3 separate regions of the Homo sapiens genome follow, and all the other regions are linked to region 1. The links are contacts of gene promoters, found by promoter capture Hi-C in blood cells and fetal thymus (Javierre and others, 2016). All regions are on one chromosome and are shown on one strand. Each heading gives the region's core, a stretch centred on a gene start or on the middle of the fragment in contact. The rest is flanking DNA. Distances are from core to core; before and after follow the strand shown. Region 1 holds the start of LRP1 (LDL receptor related protein 1). Region 2 overlaps HSD17B6 (hydroxysteroid 17-beta dehydrogenase 6). Region 3 overlaps NACA (nascent polypeptide associated complex subunit alpha).

What was found. The method cuts DNA at HindIII sites, captures the fragments that hold promoters and counts their contacts. A CHiCAGO score of 5 or more calls a contact.
Region 2: a fragment that was not itself captured here is called in contact with the fragment with the promoter of LRP1 in region 1 in 5 of 17 cell types (naive B cells, M0 macrophages, total B cells and 2 more); the score reaches 6.2 in naive B cells.
Region 3: a contact is called between a fragment that was not itself captured here and the fragment with the promoter of LRP1 in region 1, in 7 of 17 cell types (M2 macrophages, erythroblasts, M0 macrophages and 4 more). The highest score is 5.7, in M2 macrophages.

What each region holds. Positions count from the first base shown.
Region 1 is chr12:57,125,720-57,129,964 of GRCh38, forward strand. It overlaps LRP1 (LDL receptor related protein 1), which reads left to right and starts at 2,764. Exons shown (of 89, transcript NM_002332.3): 1 at 2,764-3,312. The coding sequence starts at 3,246. RefSeq lists an enhancer at 1,771-2,424. The HindIII fragment of the contact is 5,123 bases long and covers 1-4,245 here.
Region 2 is chr12:56,767,935-56,772,317 of GRCh38, forward strand. All of the region lies in intron 1 of HSD17B6 (hydroxysteroid 17-beta dehydrogenase 6), which reads left to right. Among named protein-coding and RNA genes, the nearest start is that of HSD17B6, 6.8 kb to the left of the region's middle. The HindIII fragment of the contact is 2,222 bases long and covers 2,005-4,226 here.
Region 3 is chr12:56,718,525-56,722,914 of GRCh38, forward strand. NACA (nascent polypeptide associated complex subunit alpha) reads right to left here. Exons shown (of 9, transcript NM_001365896.1): 3 at 1-2,935. Among named protein-coding and RNA genes, the nearest start is that of NACA, 4.6 kb to the right of the region's middle. RefSeq lists an enhancer at 2,292-2,411. The HindIII fragment of the contact is 4,291 bases long and covers 507-4,390 here.

The sequences.
Region 1 (4,245 bases), core at 1,514-4,013:
ACAGGGTCTCCCTCTGTTGCTCAGGCTGGAGTGCAGTGGCACGATCTCGGCTCACCACAACCTCCACCTCCTGGGTTCAAGCGATTCTCGTGCCTCAGCCTCCCCAGTAGCTGGGATTACAGGTATGCGTCACGATACGTGGCTCATTTTTGTATTTTTAGTAGATATGGGGTTCCGCCATGTTGGCCAGTGTGGTCTCGAACTCCTGAAAAGTGATCCTCCCACCTTCGTCTCCCAAAGTGTTGGGATTACAGGCATGAGCCACCACGCCTGGCCTGTATGTTACTGTTTTAAAAACTCTCCTGGCCGGGCACGGTGGCTCACGCCTGTAATCCCAGCACTTTGGGAGGCTGAGGAGGCCAGATCACGTGGTCAGAAGTTCGAGACCAGCCTAGCCAACATCGTGAAACCCCATCTCTACCAAAAATACAAAAAAAATTAGCTGGGTATAGTGGCGTGTGCCTGTAATCCCAGCTACTTGGGAGGTCAAGGCAGAAGAATCGCCGAACCCGGGAGGCAGAGGTTGTAGTGAGCCGAGATTAGGCCACTGCACTCCAACCTGGGCAACGGGGCAAGACTCCGTCTTGGGCGGGGGGGAAACCTCTGCTGGTAGGGGAGACCTGAAGAACTGTTAGTAGAAGTTACTCTGAGGGTGCAGCTGAAAAATGGGGGTGTGGAGAGCATCAAGTTTCCTTTTACTTTTTACCTTCCTGTACTTTTTTTAACCACTAGGTATTATCTTTTCTTTCTTTCTTTTTTTTTTAACAATATAAAGTTAATAAAAATACACATTCACATTCAGGAGACAGCAGGGGATGGGAGGTTGCAAGTGAGAAGTGCATGCTGACTGAGGCCAGGTTTTGGAAAGCCATGACTGAAGAGGAGTTCACATTTGACTGGTCTATAGACACCCACTAGAGGTTCCCCAGCAAGGAAGAGACACCGGGAAAGCAGTTTTTGGAAGATTCACCTGACAGATGGGTAGGGGGAGGGAGGAAAGCCCCTTCAAGCCCTCAGGCTACATGTGGTTGCTCCAGATACCGTTTTCCTCTCAAAGCTGTCAAGCTGTCTAAAGTCTGTTTCGACCTGATTTCACTTGGATCCCAATACTGGGAGGGGCCCTGGGAGGAACCTCGTAGGCATTTGGTGAGTCCGCATAGTGCGTCTCACATTGTGTTGGGCCATGGGAGCTGGATAAAAGGAGAAATAAGACCCCGTTCCTGCCTGGAGCAACTCTCTGGCAGTGGAAATGGAGGAAATCTGAGATATACTTCAGAGGAAAAAAATGACAAGCCTGGAGCACAGGCTGGCAAGATTGGATATAGGAAGGAAAGGCCCCCTTGAGTTGGCATAAAGTCTGAGGTTTCTAGCCCAGGAGACTAAAGGCAGGTGGCCACCGCGCTGAGCAAAGCCGGCTGGAAGAAGCTAAAGGTTGAGCTCACTGTCATTAGGAGGCAAGTCCTTCGTGCTGCTCCTGTTTCTGCCAAGGACAGACTGGAGTGGGGACTTTTCCGTAACTAGAACGTAAAAGGGGGAACAGTCCCTCCTCTCCAGCGTCAATTTTTGGCAGCCGACGTCGTCTGCCCCGCTCCTTGAACTCTGACATGCAGACACCTAGAAAGTCAGACACTAAGGTAACAGCCATAAAACGCCGCCCAGAAGGGGGCAGTGACCAAAAGCACGTTCACTGGCCCCTGGGAACCGCCTGGCGCCTGCCTTCTGCAAAGTATCATTCCCGTGTGGGCTGAGCCTGGGGACAAAGGTCCGGCGCTCAGCAGACACCTCCTTGGAACCCGAGGCCTGGAAACGAAGGTCCAGAGTCCCTCATCTTATTCCAAATCCTGGCGCTCGGAATCTAAAACCCTAACTTGATGGCAAGCCAGTCAGAAGGTATTAAAAAAAAAAAAAAAAAAAAAAACAGAAAAATAAATGAGCCCCGACTTCTTGGGCGAAAGGGGGTGGCCTTTCCTCAACCCCACCCGCTGGTGACTCACCTCCCTCCAAACCAGGGCCTGCCCCTCCCGCGCCTAGGGCTGGGCGAGCAGGGCGGGCGGGTACTAAGGTGGGCTCCATCCCCGAGCCCCACGCGGGCGGACAAGCTCCGGCGTGTCCCCTCGGGTGTCCCTGTTTACTCCGAGCCCGGGAGCGAGGTGGGGGCGGGTCCTCGCGGTCCCTCCCCAACCCCGCCCCCTCCTTCGCAGGCCCCAATCCCAGTCCGGTCTTCCAAAGTCTCCAAATCAAAGCTCAGCCTTTCCCTGCACCTTCCCCGCGGACTGGCGGTCCCTGTCCCCACCCCGGGCAGAGGAGGCACCTTCAGGGTTCCCCTAGAAAATCGAGCCTCGGCCCAGACCACTGAGTCCCGGACGCCCCCGGAGGGAGCCTGAAATCCTAGAGTATGACACTGAGTTTCAAAGGGGAGCCGCTCAGCTCTCCGCCCACTGCCCAATCCCACCCTCGACCCCTTCTGCTCTCTGGAGCACCAGGGAGGAGGGCCCAGCCAGGGGAGAGGGCGCCCCAGGCCCCAAACTAGCCAGCGAGTCCCCGGGACCCTCACTCTTGGACCGCTTTCCAGAACTCCGAACCCTGTCGCGGGTCCGCGTCGCCCTCCCCCGGGCAGCGCGTCAAATCGGCGCATGCGCACTCACTGGATTGCCGCGTAGCTCTTTCTCCCCCCACCCACCAACCTTTTTTCTTTCCCCGCCCCTTCCCTCCCTCCCTCCTCAACCCGTCCCCTCCCTCTCCCCCATCAGCCCCCCCCTCGGCACTTCAGTCCGGGGAACAGCGGTGCGAGCTCCAGGCCCATGCACTGAGGAGGCGGAAACAAGGGGAGCCCCCAGAGCTCCATCAAGCCCCCTCCAAAGGCTCCCCTACCCGGTCCACGCCCCCCACCCCCCCTCCCCGCCTCCTCCCAATTGTGCATTTTTGCAGCCGGAGGCGGCTCCGAGATGGGGCTGTGAGCTTCGCCCGGGGAGGGGGAAAGAGCAGCGAGGAGTGAAGCGGGGGGGTGGGGTGAAGGGTTTGGATTTCGGGGCAGGGGGCGCACCCCCGTCAGCAGGCCCTCCCCAAGGGGCTCGGAACTCTACCTCTTCACCCACGCCCCTGGTGCGCTTTGCCGAAGGAAAGAATAAGAACAGAGAAGGAGGAGGGGGAAAGGAGGAAAAGGGGGACCCCCCAACTGGGGGGGGTGAAGGAGAGAAGTAGCAGGACCAGAGGGGAAGGGGCTGCTGCTTGCATCAGCCCACACCATGCTGACCCCGCCGTTGCTCCTGCTGCTGCCCCTGCTCTCAGCTCTGGTCGCGGCGGCTATCGACGGTGAGTGAGATTCCGCGTCCCCCTTGGACCCCTGGGGGCACCCTCTCCCCAGCCCCCACTCCTGCATACGGATGGGGAAGGGAGACGCGGGAGGGGGTGCCTTTTGTTATCCCAGTCCAGCTGACACAGCAGCGGCCCGACTGGGGGCGGGGATGGGGTCCGATTTGGGGGATGGGGGCCCTGGGCAAATGATGCTTCCGGGGCCCCCCAGCACAAACAAAGACCAGAGGCCTGGGTAGAGAGAAGAGGGCTCCCCATTTTTCTGATCCTGGGGAGGAGAGGCCTTCTTTTCCTATCTCTGTTCGGGGAGGGCCTCCGCCTCCCCTACATCCTCACAACCCCCCACCCCCCATCTGAATTGTGAAGGAATCCGGATTTGCAATGTTCGGCTGCAAAAGGGGGTGGGGGTGGGGGGGGTGGCTTTTGCACTGGCCTCTGTAGCTCGAAAGGGGAGCCAGGCCAGGGGTACCCTGCCGGGCAGAGGGCAGGCAGGCCCGGGAAGGCTGTGGGTGGGGAGAGGGAGGGCCCCCTGCTTGGGCGTGGAATCGACCCCAGAGCCCCGGCTGGAGGCCTGGGTGCTGAAGTAGGCTCTTCCCCCTCTCAGGGCCTCTGTCAGTAGCCTGGGGTAGGGCTGTGTTGGGGGGCAGAGAGGGGGAGCTCGCCATACTATGTGACTTTGAATTTTCCTTCTTAATTCCTGGGAGCTTTGAGATGAAAAAACGTCAGATGTCATCACTGGGGAAGGGGACTGGAGAATGGCCTGGAATGCTGGGGTAGGAGGGTGGGGGAGGCTGCCTTCTTCCTGACTTCTGGCTTCATCACAGTTTGGATTGGAAGGAGAGTTGGAGGTTGGATGGGGATTATGGCTGTGCCCCCACACTCCTTTAGTAAATCTGTTTATTCCCTGCACCCCTCCAAGCCCAAAACCCCATA
Region 2 (4,383 bases), core at 1,866-4,365, 360 kb before region 1:
ACATATATATGTGTGAAACCATGTGTGTGTGTGTGTGTATATTGTGTATATATATATATGGTTTCACACAGTGCCTGGCAAGGAAAGTTCTCTATAACTGTTCACTATTATTATCGTGTGTCAAGCTGAGGAGTTCTGACTTTATCCTGTGGGTGACAGGGAGTCACAGACAGAATCCAATGAGAGCATGGCACGATCTGAAAGCAATCTTCTTCTTCTTCACTGAAGGCCAGGTTAGGATCTAAGAATCAGATAAAATCATAAGAAAAAAGAATGTGCTAAATATTGCAGTGAGGTCTGAGGAGAAGAGAGAGGAAGCCTTGGGAATTGTCTGCTAATAGGTCCTTGGTGAGCTGTGAGAGAGTTTCCAGAGAGTGATGGGAATGGAAGGTGAAGTGCAAGGAGCTCGTGGGTGGCAAGAAAATAGAGGGCCTGTGCTTGCCCTTTGAATATTTTGGCCATATGGGGAAGAGAGAGGATGGTTATTAAAGGGGTGGCAGGTTAGGATGGTCTTAGGGAGGATGAAAGGCAGAAGAAAGAGGATAGAAGACAATACAGAGAAATTTAGAGCAGAGGTAGCCTCACTGGGCCCTGGAACCCCCTGAGATGACAGGCAAAATGTTGTGGGTAGGAATTAGAGTGTCCAGGTTGAGCAGATCTGGATTTTGGCAGGGAAGCAACGTGTATGCTCATCTGTGGAAGGAGAGCTAGGTAAACATGAGGTTGGGAAATTTTGAAGGCTAGTAAAGATTTGGAACAGGTGTTGTTGCGAAATAATAAGGGAGGAGTCAAATGGAGGCAAACAGAAGGTTTGCCTTATATTGGCGGTGGGCGGGGGGGAGGGGGCGCAGCTGAGATAGGATAACATTGATTTGTTGTATAAAAGTTTGTTTTCTGGTCTTTCTCTAGCACCACTTGGCAGCTGGCAGCTAGAGAACATGGATGGTAAAGGCTTTGGGGTGCTAGTGAAGCACCCCTAAAATGGCCAACTATGAGACCTGTGCTGAATAAGGAGGCAAATGAAACTGTGAGAGGATTGCAGTAATAGAGAGAGACTGAGGAAAAGGAAGGCAGAGCAGGAAGAAAGAAGTAGAGGGGAGTGGGGGGAGGGGAAGAGCCCCAAAGATAGGATGGGGCTGTGCAGAGAGGGCAGTTTCAGCTTTTCAAGGTTTTTTTTTTTTTTTTTGAGGCAGAGTCTCACTCTGTCACTTAAGCTGGAGTGCAGTGGCGTGATCTTGGCTTACTGCAACCTCTGCCTCCCAGGTTTAAGCGATTCTTGTGCCTCCGCCTCCCAAGTAGCTGGGACTACAGGCACTGCCACCACACTCAGCTAATTTTTGTATTTTTAGTAGAGATGGGGCTTAGTCATGTTGCCCAGGCTGGTCTCGAACTCCTGACCTCAGGTGATCTGCCTGCCTCAGCTTCCCAAAGTGCTGGGATTACAGGCGTGAGCCACCGTGCCTGGCCTAGCTTTTCAAGATCTTTGTGGGAGAGTAGCTTCAAGCAATGATGAAGCCCAAGATGGGGATCAGACCTGAAATAAACAGTGGAAGTTCTTAACCTATGCATGTGTGATTATGAAGGTGTTTTCTAGGCTCGACCTCAAAACTCATTAAATAAAATTAACCAGATAGCATAGTGTAGATGAGAAAGGAAGAGACTGACAATATGATGTAAGAAAGCTGAATTCTTATTTACCATAGCAGGAAGTTAATTGAGAATGTCAAAAATTGGTAAATCAAGAAATAGCAGCTTAAGTACTGTGTATAAATAATTTGAGTCAAAGGCAAAAACGTAAAGTAATTGCACAGCTTTTGCAGATGAATGGTTTGTAAAAGCAAGCAGGCCACGCCACTTCGGGTATTTGGACATTTGAAATATTCGAGGCACATTCAGGTTTGGCCTAGGGTTTGGGATTCCGCCAGGTGTATCTCTTCTGCAGGTCTTCTTGCTGCTAGGCATGCGATGGCTGAATAGTAATGCCCGGGGAAACTGTGAGGGCCAAGCTTCTCTCTAATGGGGGAAATACGTTTTCATCTTTGACTGGCAACAGAAAATTACCTTTTAGTCAATAAACAGTCAGGTTGAAGCTCTCTGTGTTACTGTAGTGCACCAGGGAATGCCACTTAGGCAGAACAGAGGCAGCTGGCTAGAGAACACAGAGCTCTCAGATTGGAGAGAGGCAAAGGGCTTCAGAGAAGGAAGGAGAGAGACAGAGGGAAGAGGGGAAAAGGAGAGAAAGAGAAGATGGTGGGGGAGGGAGGAGCAATATATGCCTCTCTCCACTGTTTTCTCCCTTTCACTGTCTCCTTCCACTTTACTTGCCTACACCCTAAGTTGCCCTCTCGCTACTTACTGCCTTCTCTCCTCTCCTTCCCAGACCAGGCTTTTGAAAAAGAGTCTCCACTCGGCTCCACTTCCTGCCCTCCAATTCATGCAGCAGCCCACTGAAGATTGGCTTCTGTGCCCTTCACTGTCTGAGTCTTCCCGTTAAGAGCACCAGTGCCCTCCTATTACCCAGCAGACCTCCTGGTTGCATTGCTGATCCTCATTAAGCCCCCCTTTCCTTGGCTTTCATCAGCTTGCTTTTTCCTACTTCTCTGGCTCATTCTCCCTGCTTTTTTTCTCTCAATTTTTTATCAGGATATTTTTACTTAGTATAACTTAATTTATCTAACATTTATTAAGTATCTGCTATGTGCCATTCACTGGGCCAGGTGCAGACTAATATGTAACCTGGGCTCTCAAGGGCCTTATAGTCTAAAAATGGGGAAGAGCAGTGCAATGAAGTACAGCAGGCATCATGATAAACCCAGGCCACAATGGGGACACTAAGGAGGGTATAGTCAATTCTGTTAGACCATGGGGCAGGTTAAATCAGGGCAGGAAAGTCTCTTGCCTGGACCATTTTTTGTCCCCTCTGTCTAGTACTGTATGTAATCTCTCAGTGCTCACCTATGAAACAGTGTGGCAGCCATTGAGGTGCATTGCTCAGATCACTCAAGAAAATCTGCTATGAGGAGTGAGGTTGACTTCCAGCCTCCAGTTGTGGCACCCTCCGATCTGCTGTGGTATTTACACTGAGGCACGCTCCTCTTGGGCACTGGTCAGCCAATGACCAGAAGGATGGCAGTACTGGAGCTGGACCAGTTCAGCCCAGTGTGGAACTTCTCCAGTGGCAGTCTTTGCTCAGGCTCATGGGCCTGGCTGAGACTTTCTTGGGGCTCTACTACAGTCTAAAGCTCTTCCTATCTTCTCCTCCTTCTGTTCCCCTCTCCTTCCCGAGGTGTCAGATCTGCATTACCACCTATTCCTGTGCCTTCCCCCTTTGTCCTCTGAGGGTGTTTCCCCCATAATCTCTTGCATGTCTAATTTTGTCTTGGTATCTGAACTGACACAGAGGAATAATGATGGGACCTGTCTTGTAGGGTTCTTGTGAGAATTCAAAAAGTTAATATATGTGACATCTTAGAACAGAGCCTGATACACAGCAAGTGCTCGGCAAGGGTTGCAATTTTTTTTTTTTTTTTTTTTTTTTGAGATGGGCAGAATCTCGCTCTGTCACCCAGGCTGGAATGCAATGGCATGATCTCGGCTCACTGCAACCTCCACCTCCCGGGTTCAAGCGATTCTCCTGCCTCAGCCTCCCAAGTAGCTGGGATTACAGGCGCCCACAATCATGCCTGGCTAATTTTTGTATTTTTGTAGAGATGCGGTTTCGCCATGTTGACCAGGCTGATCTCAAACTCCTGACCTCAGGTGATCTGCCTGCCTTGGCCTCCCAACATGCTGAGATTACAGGCATGTGCCAGTGTGCCTGGCCTAGCTATTATTTTTTAATTATCCTTTTGATATGGTTTGGCTTTGTGTCGCTACCCAAATCATATCTTGAATTGTAATTCCTAGGTGTTTAGGGAGGAACCTGGTGGGAGGTGATTGGATCATGGGGGTGGTTTCCCCCATGTTGAGTTCTCATGAGAGCTGATGGTTTTATAAGCGTTTGGTAGTTCCTCTCTTGCTTGCTTTTGCTTTCCTGCCATCATGTGTTTGCTTCCCCTTCTACCATGATTGTAATTTTCCTGAGACCTCCCCAGCCATGTGGAACTGTGAATCAATTAAACCTCTTTTCTTTATAAATTACCCAGTCTCGGGTGGTATCTTTATAGCTGTGTGAAAACGGACTAGTACACCTGTAGATCTCAACTTATATTTTATTCTCTCTAGGAAGCTTCTCAGACCTCTCTAAACTGCCTTAGAAGCCTCTCCTGAGTGTTCCAGCAGCCTCCTGTTTTTACTTCTGTTATAATGCATTGTTGTCAGTCTTCATAATGAGACTGTGAATTCAATGAAAAATGGACTATGTATTGTTCACTCTTGTGTATC
Region 3 (4,390 bases), core at 1,402-3,901, 410 kb before region 1:
GTAGCTGGACCTCCTTTGGGGGAGGGAGGAGTTGCAGCTGGGGGTGTGGGGGCCCCTTTGGGGGATGGAGTAGCTGGACCTCCTTTTGGGGAGGGAGGAGTTGCAGCTGGGGGTGTGGGGGCCCATTTCGGGGATGGGGTAGCTGGGCCTCCTTTAGGGGAGGGAGGAGTTGCAGCTGGGGGTGTGGGGGCCCCTTTGGGGGATGGGGAAGCTGGGATTCCTTTAGGGGCTGGAGTTGCTCGGGCCTTTTTGGGGGAGGAAGAAGTCATGGATAGAGCAGGAGCCTGTTTGGGTGCTGGAGTAGCTGGACCCTCTTTGGGGAAGGGCAGATTCACCACTGAAGGAGTGGGGGTCTCTTTGGGGGGTAGTGTTACTCCTTTGGGAGACAGAGGAGTCACAGCTGAGGGAGTAGGGGCCCCTTTGGGGGATGGAGGAGTGGGAGAATGCGTCGTGGCTGGTGAGTCTTTAGAGCCTTGGAAAGAAAGACTATTCTCTGGAAGAAATGAAGCTTCAACTGGAGAAACAGGGGATGAGAGATTTCCAATAGGAGTATCAGGGCCAGCAGAACCCTTCTTGGTTGGAGGTCTTTTAGTCTGAGGAGACACACTAACCCCTAAAGGAGATGGGGAATCAGCTAGGTAAGTCAGAGTTCCTTTGGAAGATGCAGTAGCAGAAGCACCAGAGTCCTCAGTTGGGCACTCTTTGGGAGAGGAAGCAACAGGTGCCAATGCTGAAGTATGAGAAATACCATCAACCTTTTTTGTACCTGGAGGAGTCCCAGCTGGGGGAAGAGAGGGTGAGGGCACAGACTTTGGGATTTCAGGGGCCAGCACTAAGGTAGCCAGAGGAGCACAGGTATTCTGGGGGGATGGAGCCACAGGGCAATTTTCTGAAGCTGTAGGAACCAAGGGTAAAGTAGTAAGAGTACCTTCCTTAACTGGGTGGTTTTTAGGAGCTAAAGAGACAGTTCCTTCTAGAAAAGGGCTGGCTGTAGTTGTATAAGTTGAGGTACCTTTGGCAGTTGTGGGAGCCACCCCGGCAGGGTCAGCACTTTCCAAAGGAAATGCAGCCACTGTTGGGGTAATGAGAGAACTTTTGAGAAGCGGACCAGCAGAGTCTGGGCCTGCATAAGAATCTGTCTTGATTACAGAGGCCGAGGAGTTAACACCCAGAGGGGAGGTCATACTGCTGGCTGGCTTACCTATAGGGAGAGGCTCCCCAAGGCTTTTCTTTGCTAGGGTGGCTTCAGGAGAAAGAGGTATCTCTGGAGAAGAGGATGTACTTTGGAAAGAAGGGGAATTTTTAGGGGCTGCCTGGACTAACGGTAATACAGTAGGGTCTTTCTTGGTGGTGAGTCCTGCTTGGGCTGGAGAGAAAGGGGCTCCTTCAAGAGAGGCAGGTACAGTTTGGAGGTCTTTTTGTGTTGGAAATTTAACCAATACTGAACTGGGGAGATTTTTGAGGTCTTCAGGGTCTGGCAGAGGAGGAGAGACTGGTATCCTCAGAGTGGTTGCTACTTGAGTAGAAGGCTCTTTGGGAGCCACAGGTGCCATAACCAAGGCAGCAGGGGAAGTTGGTTCTATGTTACTTATGGGACCTGATGACATTGGAGGAGAAACACAAGTAGCTACCTCAAAGGTAGTAGTAGGTGCTGCAGCAATTGTACAGGGGTTAGTCACCACAAGTGGGGTGGTTCCAACAGAAGAAACGGGCATTTGGGCCACTAAAGGATAATGATAAGTGGCATTAGGAGAGCTTTTGAGAATGAGAGAGGTTGTAGGAGATAATGAAAAAGAGGTAGCTACATTTAAGGAGCCAGAAGGGCTGCAGGTTATGCTAGAGATGGTAGAGGGACCTTTGTCAACAGATGGAGCCACCACTGGAAAGGCAGCCACAGTAGCAGGAACTACCTCATTTCTGGAAGGAAGGGGAGGAATTACAGATCTCTGAGAAGGATAAGAGGCCCCTGTGGAAGAATGATCTACAGAAATGGTCTTCACTGTAGGGTCTGACAAAGCACTAGGACCTGTTTGACCTAAAAGTTGGACAGAACCAAAAGAACTCTGATGTAAAGGTGCAAGATGAGAGCCCAGAGAAATGGGAAAATCTGGGGGGGTGTTGGGACCCGCAGTCTTTTGAGAAGAGGTCACCACAGGAAGAGACTGAGTTGAAAGAGATAAGGCAGCAGGTGGACTAACAGGCCCCTTCAGGCTGAGGCTTCCTGGGTTTTGTGGAGAAATCAGAACTGAGGAAATGGTGGTATCTTTGACTTGAGGGGAAGCGATGGCTAGGGTAGTTGTGGGTGTTGTCTGAGGAAGGGAGGCCACTCCAGATTGAATAGAGGCCATGGGAGTCACACAGTGGTAAGGAACAGTACTGACTATACATGGAGGGCTGGGGGTGCCTTTTGGATTAGGGACTACCTCAGAGGGAACTTTATTAAGATTAGTCTTTGGTTCTGAGGGAGCAATGGGAGCTGACAGAGTTATCACTGACCCTGACTCAGCTACAGCCACTGAAGGAGGTGAAGTAAGAAGGTTAGGTGGAAAAGCAGAACTCTTCTGAACTGAGTGGGGAGCCAGGGCAACCAGAGCTAAGGGAGCTGAAGAGGAAGGGGTCCCTTTCAGAGTTGGAGCTATCATGGGAGAGGCTAGAGCTAAGGCAGCTGGGGAGATGGGAGGCCCTATTAGGTTTGGTAGGAAGGTTGGGGCTTCAGGGGCAGTTCCCAAAGGTAGGGCTGTTCCAGAGGATGACTGGGGAAAAGGAACTTCTAAAGGGGTCGAGGCAATAGTAGAGGGGGAAGGGAATGGGGAAGCCTGGTTAGCAGCTGAGAGAGGGCACTGTTGTGGGGCAGGAGAGCAAGGAGGGGGGAGGGTAGGTCCAGGCTGCCCTAAGGCAGCAGTGACACTCAAGGCTGAAGACATAGGTAGCACAGCTGGAGAAAGGCAAAAGGAGATAAAGAAAGGGGGAGGGGGAGGAGAAAAAAGGTGAGTTATGCAGCCCAACTTGGTACAACATGCCTCCTAGGAAACACTGGAGTTTAAAATCTGACAGTCTAAGTCACCACGCAGGATTAGATAAAGGTGACAGGCAACAACAACCTTCCCCAAACATTTTTCAGTGGTCAAGTGAGAAGACATTCCCCTCCTAATTTCTCACACTTCCCCAAGTTCTACCAAAGTAAACCAACTATTTTAGGGTGAGGAGAACAGTCTAAGAGCAGCCTATCTCTAAATGGGGAGCACAGACTCTTGGTAGGTTGAGAACAACATGCTTTCTATCCTTTCCCAGTTGTGCCCTCCCCTTACTTCTTGAAATGGACTGTATTCCCAAGTCTTTCTCACAGCCAACAGAATTCCCACGAGAAGAACAGCTGTGCTACTCTGTCCACCCAAATATCATGAACAGAAAAGATACTGAAAACTGGAACAAAGAAGTTAGTGAGCAGTGACGATGATGGGGAATCTGAACTGAATAAGAAAACACAGGCTTTTATACTTTCAGGCTTCCACTAGGCTAGGAAACATCTGACTCTGTTAGAATAGTTTTGGGAAGGAGGTGCACAGCACAATTCAGTTCTTCCTAAAGTTGAAACACTTCAGAATTTAATATCAAGTATTAAAGTCACTTAGCTTCTTTATACCTTACCAGTTTACTTACTCACAAAACCCAAACAAGAAAACCAACCACAAAAGGACTGTAATAGTCTCTATAAACCTTCCTAGGTGATGTTAATTCTTCAGACATCAATCCAAGATGAATTAGACATGAATTAGACCTCCAGGCAGAGAGCTTACTCACAAGGGTAGGGACTGTATTATGAAACTGTAACCTAACTTGTTAAACCAGATTGTGGTGCTATTTTGGAAGAAGAGAATTGGAGAGCCTGTAACAGTGGCTCATGCCTGTAATCCCAGCACTTCGGGATGCCTGGGAGGGCGGATCACGAGGTCAGGAGTTCCAGACCGACCTGACCAACATGGTGAAACCCCGTCTCTACTAAAAATACAAAAATTAGCTGGGCGTGGTGGTGTACACCTGTAATACCAGCTACTCAGGAGGCAGAGGCAGGAGAATGGCTTGAACCCAGGAGGTGGAGGTTGCAGTGAGCCAAGATCGCGCTACTGCATGCACTCCAGCCTGGGTGACAGGGTGAGACTCCGTCTCAAAACAAAACAAACCAAAGAAGACAATTGGAGTGGCGAGAATACACTGGATCCCCACTCCTTAACTTGGAATTTAAGTGTTTCATTATGTCAAAATACACCAATGTTTGGCATGACAGTAAGACAGTATCTCTGGCATTCAGGAGGTAACACAGAATTGGATCAACAAATGCTCAATGCTTAGAAGGGAATGTTAAGGGGGGCGGGGGGGAAGCCCGTGGTAC